2 separate regions of the Homo sapiens genome follow, and region 1 is linked to region 2. Evidence: promoter capture Hi-C in 16 types of primary human blood cells and fetal thymus (Javierre and others, 2016). All regions are on one chromosome and are shown on one strand. Each heading gives the region's core, a stretch centred on a gene start or on the middle of the fragment in contact. The rest is flanking DNA. Distances are from core to core; before and after follow the strand shown. Region 1 overlaps DANCR (differentiation antagonizing non-protein coding RNA). Region 2 holds the start of REST (RE1 silencing transcription factor).

Evidence for each region. The method cuts DNA at HindIII sites, captures the fragments that hold promoters and counts their contacts. A CHiCAGO score of 5 or more calls a contact.
Region 1: a contact is called between a fragment that was not itself captured here and the fragment with the promoter of REST in region 2, in 1 of 17 cell types (activated CD4 T cells). The highest score is 5.1, in activated CD4 T cells.

The regions. Positions count from the first base shown.
Region 1 is chr4:52,720,167-52,726,236 of GRCh38, reverse strand. It overlaps DANCR (differentiation antagonizing non-protein coding RNA), which reads right to left. Exons shown (of 5, transcript NR_145129.1): 5 at 5,540-6,070. Among named protein-coding and RNA genes, the nearest start is that of SNORA26, 10 kb to the right of the region's middle. RefSeq lists an enhancer at 3,415-3,714 and silencers at 3,875-3,924, 4,105-4,244. The HindIII fragment of the contact is 6,089 bases long and covers 56-6,070 here.
Region 2 is chr4:56,904,038-56,910,339 of GRCh38, reverse strand. It overlaps REST (RE1 silencing transcription factor), which reads right to left and starts at 2,440. Exons shown (of 4, transcript NM_005612.5): 1 at 2,127-2,440. RefSeq lists enhancers at 194-1,123, 2,054-2,983 and silencers at 1,214-2,063, 2,174-2,563, 2,663-2,957. The HindIII fragment of the contact is 2,443 bases long and covers 453-2,895 here.

The sequences.
Region 1 (6,070 bases), core at 1,851-4,350, 4.2 Mb after region 2:
CAATCAATTCCAAATGGATTGCAGATCTAAATGAGCAAACTAAAACATTAAAGCTTTTGGGGGGCCAGGCGTGGTGGTTCATGCCTGTAATCCCAGCACTTTGGGAGGCTGGGGCAGGTGGATCACAAGATCAGAAGATGGAGACCATCCTGGTCAACATGGTGAAACCATGTTTCTACTAACATACAAAAATTAGCTGGGCATAGTGGTGTGCACCTGTAGTCCCAGCTACTTGGGAGGCTGAGGCAGGGGAATTGCTTGAACCCAGGAGGAGGAGATTGTAGTGAGCCGAGATTGCGCCACTGCACTCCAGCCTGGTGACAGAGAGAGACTCCGTCTCAAAAAAAAAAAAAAAAAAAAAAAAAAAAAAAAAAAAAAAACAGGAGGAAACTTTATAACCTGGAGTAGGCAGAGATTTCTTAAATAAAACCAAAAAACACTAAATGTTAAAACTAATGAATTGAATATTTCAAAATTAAAGTTTTCTTCAAAAGATACCATTAAAAGAATGAAAAGTAACCAAATGGGGGAAAATATTTGTGACATATATACTTGACAAAGGATGAATATTTAGAATTCTAAAAACAAAAACATAATACTGTATACTTAAAAAATTGCTAAGAGGATATATCTTACATTGTGTTATTTTAAATTTATTTTATTTTTTTCAAATTTTATTTTAGACTCAGGGGTACATGTACAGGCTTGTTACCTGGGTATATTGCGCGATGCTGAGGTTTGGGGTACAAATGATCCCTTCAGCCAGGTACTGAGCATCGTACCCAACAGTTTTTCCAACTTTTCTCCCTCTCTTTCCCTCCCCCCATGTTAAGGGTTATTATCAATAATAATAATAAAGAGGTCAGGAGAAAACTTTTGGAGGTGATGGATTAGGTTCATGGCATAGATTGTGCTGATGGTTTTAAGGGTGTACACTTATCTCCAAACTTATGAAGTTGTGTACATTGAATATGTATAGCTTTTTAGCATGCCAATCATACTTCAATAAAGTCATTTTTAAAAATCTTCTTACAATGGATAAACAAGCTGTGATATATTCATCCAATGGAATAGTACTCAGAAATAAGGAGGAATAAGTTATTGACACATGCAACAATATGAATAAATCTCAAACACAGCATGCTGAGTGCAAGAAGCCTTATACAGAAGAACATACTGTATGATTCCAGTTATATGGTCTTCTGAAACAGGCAAATCTAATCTACAGTGAGGAAAAAAATTAGAACATTGGTTGTCCCTGGGAAAGTGGAAATGGTAGGGAGCATGAAGGACTTTCCGGGGTGATAGTATGTTCTATACTTGATAGAAGTTTGGGTTATACAAATGAATGCATTTGTCAAAACTCAGCAAATATATACACTAAAGATTTGTGCATTTCATTTCATGTAAATTTTACATCAAAAGAAACCTGAAGTATTAAATTCTAGTTAATGATATACATGCTGAAATATTAATATTTAAATGGCCAAATATGTATTGCTGTTTGCAATTTACTTTGAAATGCAACAACATTAAGATAGATACAGGTAAATGTAGAAATATCCTAAAGTGAGTGTTATATAATGTTAATGGTAGAATAATCTATGTGGTAAGTTTACAGACGCTATTGTAAAACTCTTTAAACTTTGCTAAATATTTGAAATTTTTCATAATCAAATGTTAGGAAAATACAAATTTAAAAGACACTAAAAATGGGCACAGATTTTAACAGACACTTCATGAAGTTATTTCTTAATAGCCAATAAAGAGATGAAAAGGTGCTCAACTTCATTAATCATCAGGGAGCTGCAAATCAAAATCACCTGAAGCACAATTATCACCCACCAAAATGGCTAAAATGAAAAAAGATGGAAAATACCAAGTGTTGATGAGAATGTGGAACAACTGGAATACTCATATGTTGCTGATAAGTGTAAATTGGCTCAAACACTTTGAAAAACTGTTTTAAAATATTTAATATCTACTAAATTTGAACATGGTATATAACCTATGATCCAATAATTCCATTTGTAGGTATACACCGAACAGAAATGCAATCATCTTTTATCATGTTCATCAGAAGACGTTTATTACAATGTTCATAGCAGCAATATTTTTAATAGTTCCAAAATGTAGACTACTCCAATGCCTATCAACAATTGGTTGAATACATAAATTGTGGTATATTCACAAAATGGACTGCACTGCAGCATTCTCATGAGCAAACTGTGACTATACTCAAAATATGGATGAACCTCATGACCATCATAGTGAGTTAAAGAAACCAGACACAAAAAATCACATGTATATAATGCACAAACACAAGGATACTGCTCTATGCTGTTAGAAGTCAGGCTAGCGGTTACCTTTGGGTGAAAAGGAGTGGTTAGCTACCGGAAGGAAATACTTCTGGTGTACTGTTTCTTTCTTTCTTTCCTTTCTTTCCCTTCTTTTCTTTCCTTTCTTTCTCTTCGTTTCTTTCCCCTCCCTCCGTCCCTCCCTCCCTCCCTCCCTTCCTTCCTTCCTTCCCTCCCTTTCTTCCTTCCCTTTCTCTCTCTCTTTCTTTCTATTTCTTTTTTTCTTTTTTTTAATGTAGTATAGCTCTGTCACCCAGGCTGGAGTGCAGTGGCATGATCTCGCTCACTGCAACCTCCACCTCCCGGGTTCAAGCGATTCCCCTGCCTCAGCCTCCGGAGTAGCTAGGATTACAGACGTGTGCCACCACACCCAGCTAATTTTTGTATTTTTAGTAGAGACAGGGTTTCACCATGTAGGCCAGGCTGGTCTCAAACTCCTGACCTCAAGCGATCTGCCCACCTCGGCCTCCCAAAGTGCTGGGATTACAGGCATGAACCACCACGCCCCGCCATGTTCTGTTTCTTAAATTAGTTGTTGGTGGCAGGACTGTGATTAGTTTGTGAAATTTCAGCCGAATGTGCATTTTTGTGTACTCATCTGTGGTCATGTTATATTTCAATAAAAAGCAGTCTCTGCCAGAACCTACAGGCAATGAGGTGCCACAGAAGGAGTTGACATTTGAGAGGCTTGAGAAGGGTTTAAGAGACACAATCAGATTTGCATTAGGAAGATTAATCTTTGGCTTTGGAGGATGACCGGGAAAGGAGTTGGGAGCTATTTGTAGAACTAATCCAGGCAAGCAATTATGAAGGTCTGAATTAGAGCAAGGGAATAGGAATGAGGACAGGATACAGCTGATATTTAGGAAGTAAACATGACAGGACGTGAGCCGATCACTAAATCCTCCTGCTCATGTTTCCTTGCTTGAAAAATAAGGAATAACAGTACCTACTTCATTGGGACTAGTTTGATGATTTAATGAGGGGGAGTGGTTTTAGATTTATAAAATATATATATGCTTATTGTATACCATACCTAGACATAAGGTATTAATATTAGAAAGCTCTAAGAGAAATATCTTGATTTTGGCATTGTCCCTGCGACGCTGCCTTCTCCCTGCCTAGGATGGATCAGCGTGGGACACAGGGTAGAAGGCAGAGGTACAGAATACCACAGGACATGTCAGAACGTGGGCGTGAAACGGGCCCAAGGGACCACGGGTGAAGGTCTAGGACTCTTCCAGCAGCCTGAGCGCCAGCAGAAGGAACCAAAACTAACCCAGGCGTTTCCTCTCCTCCTCCCCAGCCTTTCGGCCGAGAAGCAGACCGGCGGAACGCGACGGGGATTCAGGCCTAGGGGTGGGCTTGAGGCCGGAAAAATGGCCAATGGAACGAGAGCTTCTCCGTGCTTAGCCAATTGCATGACCCCCCCCCCAGGACCGCCCCCATCCGGTGATTGGCAGACACGTCTCCCAGTGTTGTCGCGGCCTGCTAAGGCTCTCAGAACTCCCGCGAGGGTGCGGGTCTTCCTCCAGCGCTGGGCTACTTGGTCCCGCCCCTCAAGGTATTTCTGCTCCTTGTGTGCCAGGGACCCCGGTAGTCCTGCTCCTGCTCTGGACCTGGAGCCAGGAGGTGGCTGGGAGGTGGGCGCGGTGAGGAGGTCTGAGCAGCCGCAGGCTCTGGGCCGCTTCGCCTCGAATCCGGGACCCGCGGGACCCGCAGGACCCGTAGTGCCTGGGGCCGAGGTGGGCGCGGCCCGGGCTCTCATGCTTTCCCTCACGCGCACCTGCCTTTTCCGCGGGGCCCGGGGCGGCTCCCCTGCCAGTTGGCGGGAGTAACCCGTAGTAGTAAAGCGCGACTGGATTAGGCCCTGTGTATTGAAGGGTTTGCGATCTTGAAAGGAACATTTGCATTAAAAACAGTGGGCAAACTTGTTTGTGGTCCTGTTGGTAACACACTTTTAGGGGGTGCAGTACAGTATGTTACCATACTTGGGGGATTAGCCGCCGTAGTTAAATGGTGGGTTCCTGTTGTTCCCAGCCCATTTCTAGCTAATTTAAAGAGAGTTTAAATAGGATAAGGTCCCGTTTACATCTTCCAGTGCCTAATACAAATATTTTAAGCAGCCCTATCAGCCTCCCCAAAAGGTAAAGGAGATTCCCCCAGTAAAGGCACATGACACTATGTATTGAATTCTTTTTTTTTTTTTTAAGACGGTGTCGCTCTGTCGCCCAGGCTGGAGTGCAGTGGCGCGATCTCGGCTCACTGCAACCTCTACCTCCCGAGTTCAAGCGATCATCCCACCTCAGCCTCCCAAGTAGCTGGGATTACAGGCGCCAGCCACCACGCCCGGCTAATTTTTGTATATTTTGTAGAGACGGGGTTTCACCATGTTGGCCAGGCTGGTCTTGAACTCCTGACCTCAGGTGATCCGCCGGAATCGGCCTCCCAAAGTGCTGGGATTACAGGTGTGAGCTACCACGCCCGGCCTGTATTGATTTCTTGAATTTAGCAAACACCACAAAATTATCTTAAAGTAGCCTGTACTTAATACCATAAGAAAGACCAGCCTGAGTCTGTTTTCCCTGAAAGCAAAGCACTGAAAAAATCGTGCAATCGGGAAGAGAATACAAAATACTGTAGATACCTGAGTCTTCAGTGTACAGCCAAGTGGCAATATACATGTTATTAGGATGTATTTTTAAGTCTTAGGTTCTTTCGGGGTGGGACAGTGCCGACTAATAATTAAAGTATTTCATATATCATTTTCCTATTAATTGGACAAGAAAAAGCTGATTTATTTTCGACCCTTTTGTAGGTGGGAAAATAGCAGGCTAAGATGATATAGCACTGAAATCTTTATCAGCTTCTCCAAAGATTATTTGTACTCATCTGTTGAAATATTTACCAATTTTTCTTTGTGTAGTTTGTGAAATTGCTGGAATAGGTTATGTTTCAGCTGGCTACAACAGAGCTTTTAAGGTTGCCAACTAACTTTCTTAGATGTGAATAGAGTTATTCTTTTGTTGACCTAAAAATTGTTGACTGTTAGAGCAAAGAATTCATATTAAATTTTGTGTAAAGTTAAATATGTCAGTGAGACACCTGAAATAGACTATTTTGGTATATTGCATTTGAACCTCCCTATCAATAGCAATCAAAAAACCATAATTCCAATCTGGCTATTTCTGAATATACAGCCAAGACAAGTGGCAATTAGAACTGTTAAAAGTAGTTTCTGGCTGGGTCCAGTGGCTCACCCCTGTAATCCCAGAACTTTGGGAGGCTGAGGCAGGAGGATCACTTGAGCCCGTGAGTTCAAGACAGGCCTGGGCAACATAGGGAGACCCCCCCACCTCTATAAAAAACAACAATAACAAAATTAGCCAGGTCTGGTGGTACACACCTGTGGTCCCACCTACTCAGGAGGCTGAGGTGGGAGGATCGCTTGAGCCTAGGGTACCAAGGCCGCAGTGAACTATGATTGTTCCACTATACTCCATCCAGCCTGGGTGACAGAGGAAGACCCTGTCACAAAAGAGAAACAAAAAAAAAAAGTAGTTTCCGGTGATGACATATCAAGAGCAAGAATTTTTGACTGGCACAAAAGGTTTAAAGAAGGTAAGGATGATACCCATGGTGATGTGCAAAGCGGTCATCCAGTCACCCACAGAATCCAATTAAATGCTGAGAGCCAGAAATTCGGTTTTCTC
Region 2 (6,302 bases), core at 1,191-3,690:
TTTTAATTGTTCTGGTGGGGATAAAAAGTAACCTTCATTTTTACTGTTAAAATTATTTTAAAAATTCAAAACATGAGTAGTAAATTATTGTCCTCCCAACTTTTCCCCCCTTCAACAGTTCAATGGTCTGAATCAGAAAGCCCAGAAATCCACAAGCCATTCAGTGCATTTATTAAGTACACAAACACATCTGGAAAGTACAAGCCTGTAATAATTGTTCAACTTAATTGGATTTCGCATGAACTCAACTAACTCCAAAAGAATAAACTACTGTGAAAAAGTAGCAGTCAGCCCCTTAATTTTTCGACAACTCCACAGGCTTAAAAGAAAAAACATTTATGGACCCCTTTTCTTGTGAAAAAGGAAGTTTGATTTATTCAAAACTTCACAAATAAAAATTAATAAGCTTATTTTTCTGCAGGCTGAAGTTCCACAACACTGAATTCCAAGCTTTTCAATACGAATAAAATCATCGTGCAACTCAACTCGACAATCAGCAACTTTCTTGCATTGTGCTTGACTTGGCCTACTTGCCTAGTGGAAGCCATTACAAGATCACCTTCTTCAAAACAAGTTGGGCTTTCTAGATGCTACGTTACTTCTCAATCTAAAAGGTGCCATTCTCAAACGAAGTGTTCACTCGCAAATTAAAAAAAGTAAGAAGTTCTAAGAAAATAAAGTTAAACCGAAAATACAAAAAGTAACCCGCTTCACCCAAGTGTATAAACACAAACCGGTTTAGTTCTACGTACCAACAAAAGTTGGAAGCAAATGCCATCACAGAAAACAGAGGGCGAAGGCTGTCCCGGGGCTGAACAGCCCAAGCTATTGGGTAATTTGGCCCAACATCGACTTTTCTAATTGCTCCCTAACCCCTAACTGCCACCCCAAATGGAATTTTAACGATTGTTAGGAAGACCGTCCAGGCACAGCCCGAAAGCCCAACGTGCTGCACGAATTCCTCCGTGCTGCTGCCACCAGCGCCTGCCTCGGCGGCGGCATTCCTAACTGAAATAGGCATTCGGCCATTTTCTCAAAATACCAAACACAAAGCAGCTCTTTGCAAACTCGGGCGCTCTCGCTTCCTCTCGCCTCGGCCCGCTCACTGCACACATTTACACACCAACTCGCGGGAGTCGCCCCGACACTCGTCCTGAGCCTTTTCCTGCGCTCTCCAACACTAAAACGGGGGAGGGGATCAAGCTCGAGGCGCTGTTTGGCCGGAACCAGTCCTCCCCGAGTCCAGGCAGCCCCCTCCCCAGCCCTAGGGCCCCCGTCCCGGGAGAGGACGGAAAGTTACCGCGCAGCCGGCGTCCGGGCTTCTCCGACCGCCCCCGGGCCCCTCCGACCGCCCCGGGGCTCGCCCAACGCCCAGGGCCGGGGAGGCTCCGCGGGCGCCCTCGCGAGGCGTCGGGCTCCGAGCGCCGGAGGGGGCCCCCACACGGGCCAGCCGCCACCCCCGCGCCCCGGAAGTTTGCGAACTTCACTCCCCCACGGCGCCCGGCAGGACGCGCGCCCCAGCCCCGCCAGCTCCAGCGGTCGGGTGGCCGGACGCGGGGGCCAGCGGCGCCGGACGGCTGAAGCGCAGAAATCGCTGTCCAGCCCCGCAGGCGGAACCGCCCGGGCCCCGGGGCTGACTCAACCCGCCCGGCCGCACTCAACGGCGCCTTCCGGCGACAGGGAGAGGCCCTGGGGGAGGGGGCCAGGAGGGCCGCGGGCCGGCGCGGGGCTGCGGTGGGACCCGGGGGCAGGAGGAGGAAGCAGAGGAAGTTTCAGGACTACGGGCCCGAGCAGCTCCGCTCCTTGGCCTCAAAGGACCTGACTCGGTGGAGCGTCCGGGCCAGCGCGGAGGCGGCGTCCCAGCCTCCAGTGGGGAGGGGGTCCAGGCGACGCGCTGCTCCCAACAAACGCCCCCAGCCCCCGGGCGGCTGCTGTGTAACCCGATCCTGCTCGGCCGCCAGCCCCCGCCCGGCGGGGCCGCCGCCGCCGGAGCCACAGTATCTGCAAATCAGCCCTGGACAGCGCCTGACTCCGCGTCCTTCCGCGCCCTCCCCGTCCCGCCACTGCCGCCGCCCGGGCGGCCCTCCCCCACCCTGACCGAGCCCCCAGCCCAGCGCCCCACTTACCGGCCTTCCTCGGTGAGGAGGGGCGGGCGACCCTGAGTCGCCGCTCCTTCTCCGACTACTTTTCTTTGTTGCTGGAGTTTCGGGGGAGAGGTGGGGGAGGGTGGTAAAGTTGGGTGCTGGGGCCGTCGTGGACCAAGAAGGCCCAGGAGTGGGGCTGCAGAGGGTGCTCAGGCCTCCGGGCCTCGCCCTGCCGTCTCGGCTGCGGCAGCCGCCGCCAGGGTCTGGGGCCCCGGGCCTCGGCGGCGCTCGCTCCGCTGCTGCGCCGCGAGCTCGCGGCAGCCGCACATTCCAACACAGGACGCTGCGCCGCGCACCCAGTCCGCGCCGCCGCCGCCGCCACCGCCCGCGGGACACGCCCCCTCCGACGCCCGCGCGCGCCCGCGAGACACGCCCCCTCCGACGCCCGCGCGCGTGGCCGCTAGGCGCGCCCCGCCCCTCTACCAAGCAAGGAGTGCCCCAGTCTCCAGCTCGCCTGGGGGCGCGTCTAGGGGGAGCCGCCCGTAATCCTCCCGGCCCCTCACTCCTGCCCTTAGGTCAGAAAAGAGGCGGGCCCCACTCCCTTTCTCGATTTCTATTACAAACAAACAACAAAAGTTCCCCCCAGCCCTGGCGTGCATGCATGAGAATAGAGCTGTTAAAAGAAGAATCCGCAGGCTTTGACGGGTCTCTTTAGAGCTATTGTCACCGGCCTCTCAAGTCTAAAGCGCTCCAAGATACCCTTCAGATCTCTTCAAGTCTCCACCCATAGCTGTCCTTGACTAATTAAGCTTCGTTTTAAGCGTCTGCGGTAAAAAAAAAAAAAAAAAAAAAAAGTCTTCCAAATTTCAAACTACCGGAGGGGGAATGCAGTCAGTTTGGGAGAAGTGAGAAGAAAACGTTTCAGGAAGGAGGTTATGGACTCAGAAAGCGTGAGCGTGAGGACTGAGGGGACAGATCCCTAGACGTGGCAGGTAGCAGGTCATTGCTGAGCCCGGAAAGCACGACTGCAGGGGAGGAATTACCCTCAGATGACAGAAGAAAAGGTGGTGAGGACGGGGAGGCTGCCTGGGGCCACGGTGTGTCGGAGTAACCGGGCTCACGTCTATGAAGCGGGATAACCAAGCGGAATGCCTAGCCCATAGTCATGTGCTAACAAAAACAAAAACAACAAAAAAGAACAGAGAGAGAGTAATTCCACCCCCTTTCACACCTGAAAGAGCTTCTCAGTCTGCCTTTGATACCTTCCTAAACGTCAGTCGTAAGTCACACCTGTCCTCAGAAGCATAGTGGCTCCCCATGACTACAAGCTTAAAGCTTAAACCCCTTAGTGTGGCGTTCAAGCCCCTACTTAACTTGACCTAGATAAGTCTGACTATTGCTTGGTATTACAACATAAGTAGCAAGTGCTATGGGGGTTTGCCAGTAGGAAGATGGATCCCAAGAGGTTCTAGAAACTTTTCACAGTAGATGTATTCAGTCTGACCTTGGAGAATGAGGAAAACTTCAACAGGTGGAAAGTAGGGCAAGGAACACTCTACACAGTGAAAAGGGCAAGCTCAAAATCCCAAAGCAGTTGTTAAGACATCCCAGCTTCTCCTCAGGGTACCTCACTTCCTTCTCTTTGAAGTTCCTTTATTTGTTTCTCTTAGGGCAGGGCTTCCAGACTCTTCATTTCCTGGTATACCCACGTAGGACCTCTGTTTCCCTCTATCTGGACAATATATTACTAATTAATGCAGTCTCCGATGCAAGATGAAATGAAGACCCTAAGGTGCTCGACCACCAAAAGTTTCAATGAGGCAATTTCAAATGTAACACCTCTCCATGAATCAAACCTGAAAAGTATTCATTTTCATTGAACCAAAGAGACAGGAAGGAAGGGAGGGAGGGAGGGAGGAAAGGAAGATCGACATTTTTAGGACTGGTACAAACTTTTCTATATATATTTTATTTGTTTAACTAAAATCAAGTTTGAGGTCACATGGCTTTTTTAGATGCTGTAGCCCAGGGTACAATTCAGGCCTCTACCAAGGTTGTCAAAGACATAAACTTGTTTTCTTTCCCTTTTTTAGGTCCAAAAAGGCAAAAATGAAATGTCTCTTGTTAAACTTACTAAATGTCCTTCATTTCCTCAATCTGACTGCTTACTGGAAATGTCTTATTAATTGCAAATTTATTCCCACATATTGTGATGCAAATAGAAGAATGGCGAATGGGCAGCTGCATTCATTTAAAATTAGCAGAGGCCCTTGTTCAAGGGATGGCATATTCAGAGTGACCCAAATTATCATGACATGAAGGCCACAGGTCAAATTCATAGGCCAAATTACAAATCAATTGAAAATTTTCTTGAGGGAAGCTGTTGCTATGAACTTGAATTCCTAACTGTTTTTCAAAAGTCTGTATTTTACTTTGCTGTATCCAAACTTTAGGATCTTCTGCAAGATAAAAACTCTGAAATGAGAATGAGTTCTGCTTTTCTTATATGGTTTTTTTCCTGCATATTTAACTCATCAATTTTTTTATTTTAATTATCATATGTTCTTAATAGTATTTTCTCTAGAGAGATTTCTTTCTTTTTTTTTTTTTTTTTTTTTTTGAGACAGAATTTGGCTCTTTTTGCCCAGGCTGGAGTGCAATAGCACGATCTCGGCTCACCGCAACCTCCGCCTCCCGGGTTCAAGCAATTCTCCTGCCTCAGCCTCCCGAGTAGCTGGGATTACAGGCATGTGCCACCACGCCAAGCTAATTTTGTATTTTTAGTTAGAGACGGGGGTTTCTCCATGTTGGTCAGGCTGGTCTCGAACTCCCAACCTCAGGTGATCCGCCTGCCTCGGCTTCCCAAAGTTCTGGGATTACAGGCGTGAGCCACCACACCTGGCCAATTATATATATATATATATATTATTTTTTTTTTTGACATGGAGTCTTGCTCTGTCACCCAGGCTGGAATGCAAAGGTGCGATCTCGGCTCACTGCAACCTCCACCTCCCGGGTTCAAGTGATTCTCCTGCCTCAGCCTCCCGAGTAGCTAGGATTACAGGCACGTGCCACCTTGTCTGGCTAATTTTTGTATTTTTAGTAGAGATGGTGTTTCACCATGTTGGCCAGGCTGGTCTTGAACTCTTGACCTCAGATGATCCACCTGCCTGGGCCTCCCAAAGTGCTAGGATTACAGGTGTGAGCCACCCCGCCTGGGAGTCTTGCTCTGTCGCCCAGGCTAGAATGCAGTGGCAAGATCTTGGCTCACTGGAACCTCTGCCTCCTGGGTTCAAGCAATTCTCCTGCCTCAGCCTCCCGAGTAGCTGAGATTACAGGCACCCGCTAGGACGCCCAGCTAATTTTTGTATTTTAGTAGAGATGGGGTTTCACTATGTTGGTCAGGCTAGTCTCGAACTCCTGACCTGAGGTGATCCACCCGCCTCGGCCTCCCAAAGTGCTGGGATTACCTGTGTAAGCCACCGAGTCCAGCCAGCATCATCTACTCTTGCTGCCGGTTGGACTCTGACCTCTTGTTCTGGTTCTGATAACTGGAATAGTGTCTTACTCATTATAGGCATCAACAGCTTGAGCCAGGGAGGTTTTCCCTTCATGCTGAGAAGGGAAGGAGGTGAACAAGAGAACTTGAGACTTGAGCTGGGCTCCTTCCTGCCTTCTTTTGGAGCCTAGATCACATTTGGAACCCGCTCCCATTTTCGTCCAATCCTAATGCCCTTCCCTGCTGTTTCTGCTCCCATTTTCGTCCAATCCTAATGCCCTTCCCTGCTGTTTCTGTCTCTAACATTTATTACTAACATGCTAGGTATTTTTATTTATTTACCCTACTTAGGAACTTAAGCTCCAGAAAGGCAGAGACATTTTTTTATCCCCAGCACCTATAACTCGTTAGTTGCTCAACAAATATTAGTTAGATGAATGGTTACAAAATCCTAGCTTGGTATCACAATCTCTCAAAGTGGGGACCATCCTTACCCATGTCGGTACCCAACGTTCAGTACCCATCACAGTCTTCCCTCATGTTAAGCATGAGCCTGCCTCCTTGAATCTCCCTAATAACTACTGTTAAATAAATTAATGCTCCTGGATCCCTGGTCTTGGGGTTCTACCCTCCTGGTGAAAATCTCCCTGCCTGCTCTTCTGCATATTGTATTCCTAGCACATTCCTGATTTCACGCATCAGCCTCTGGTTGGATATTC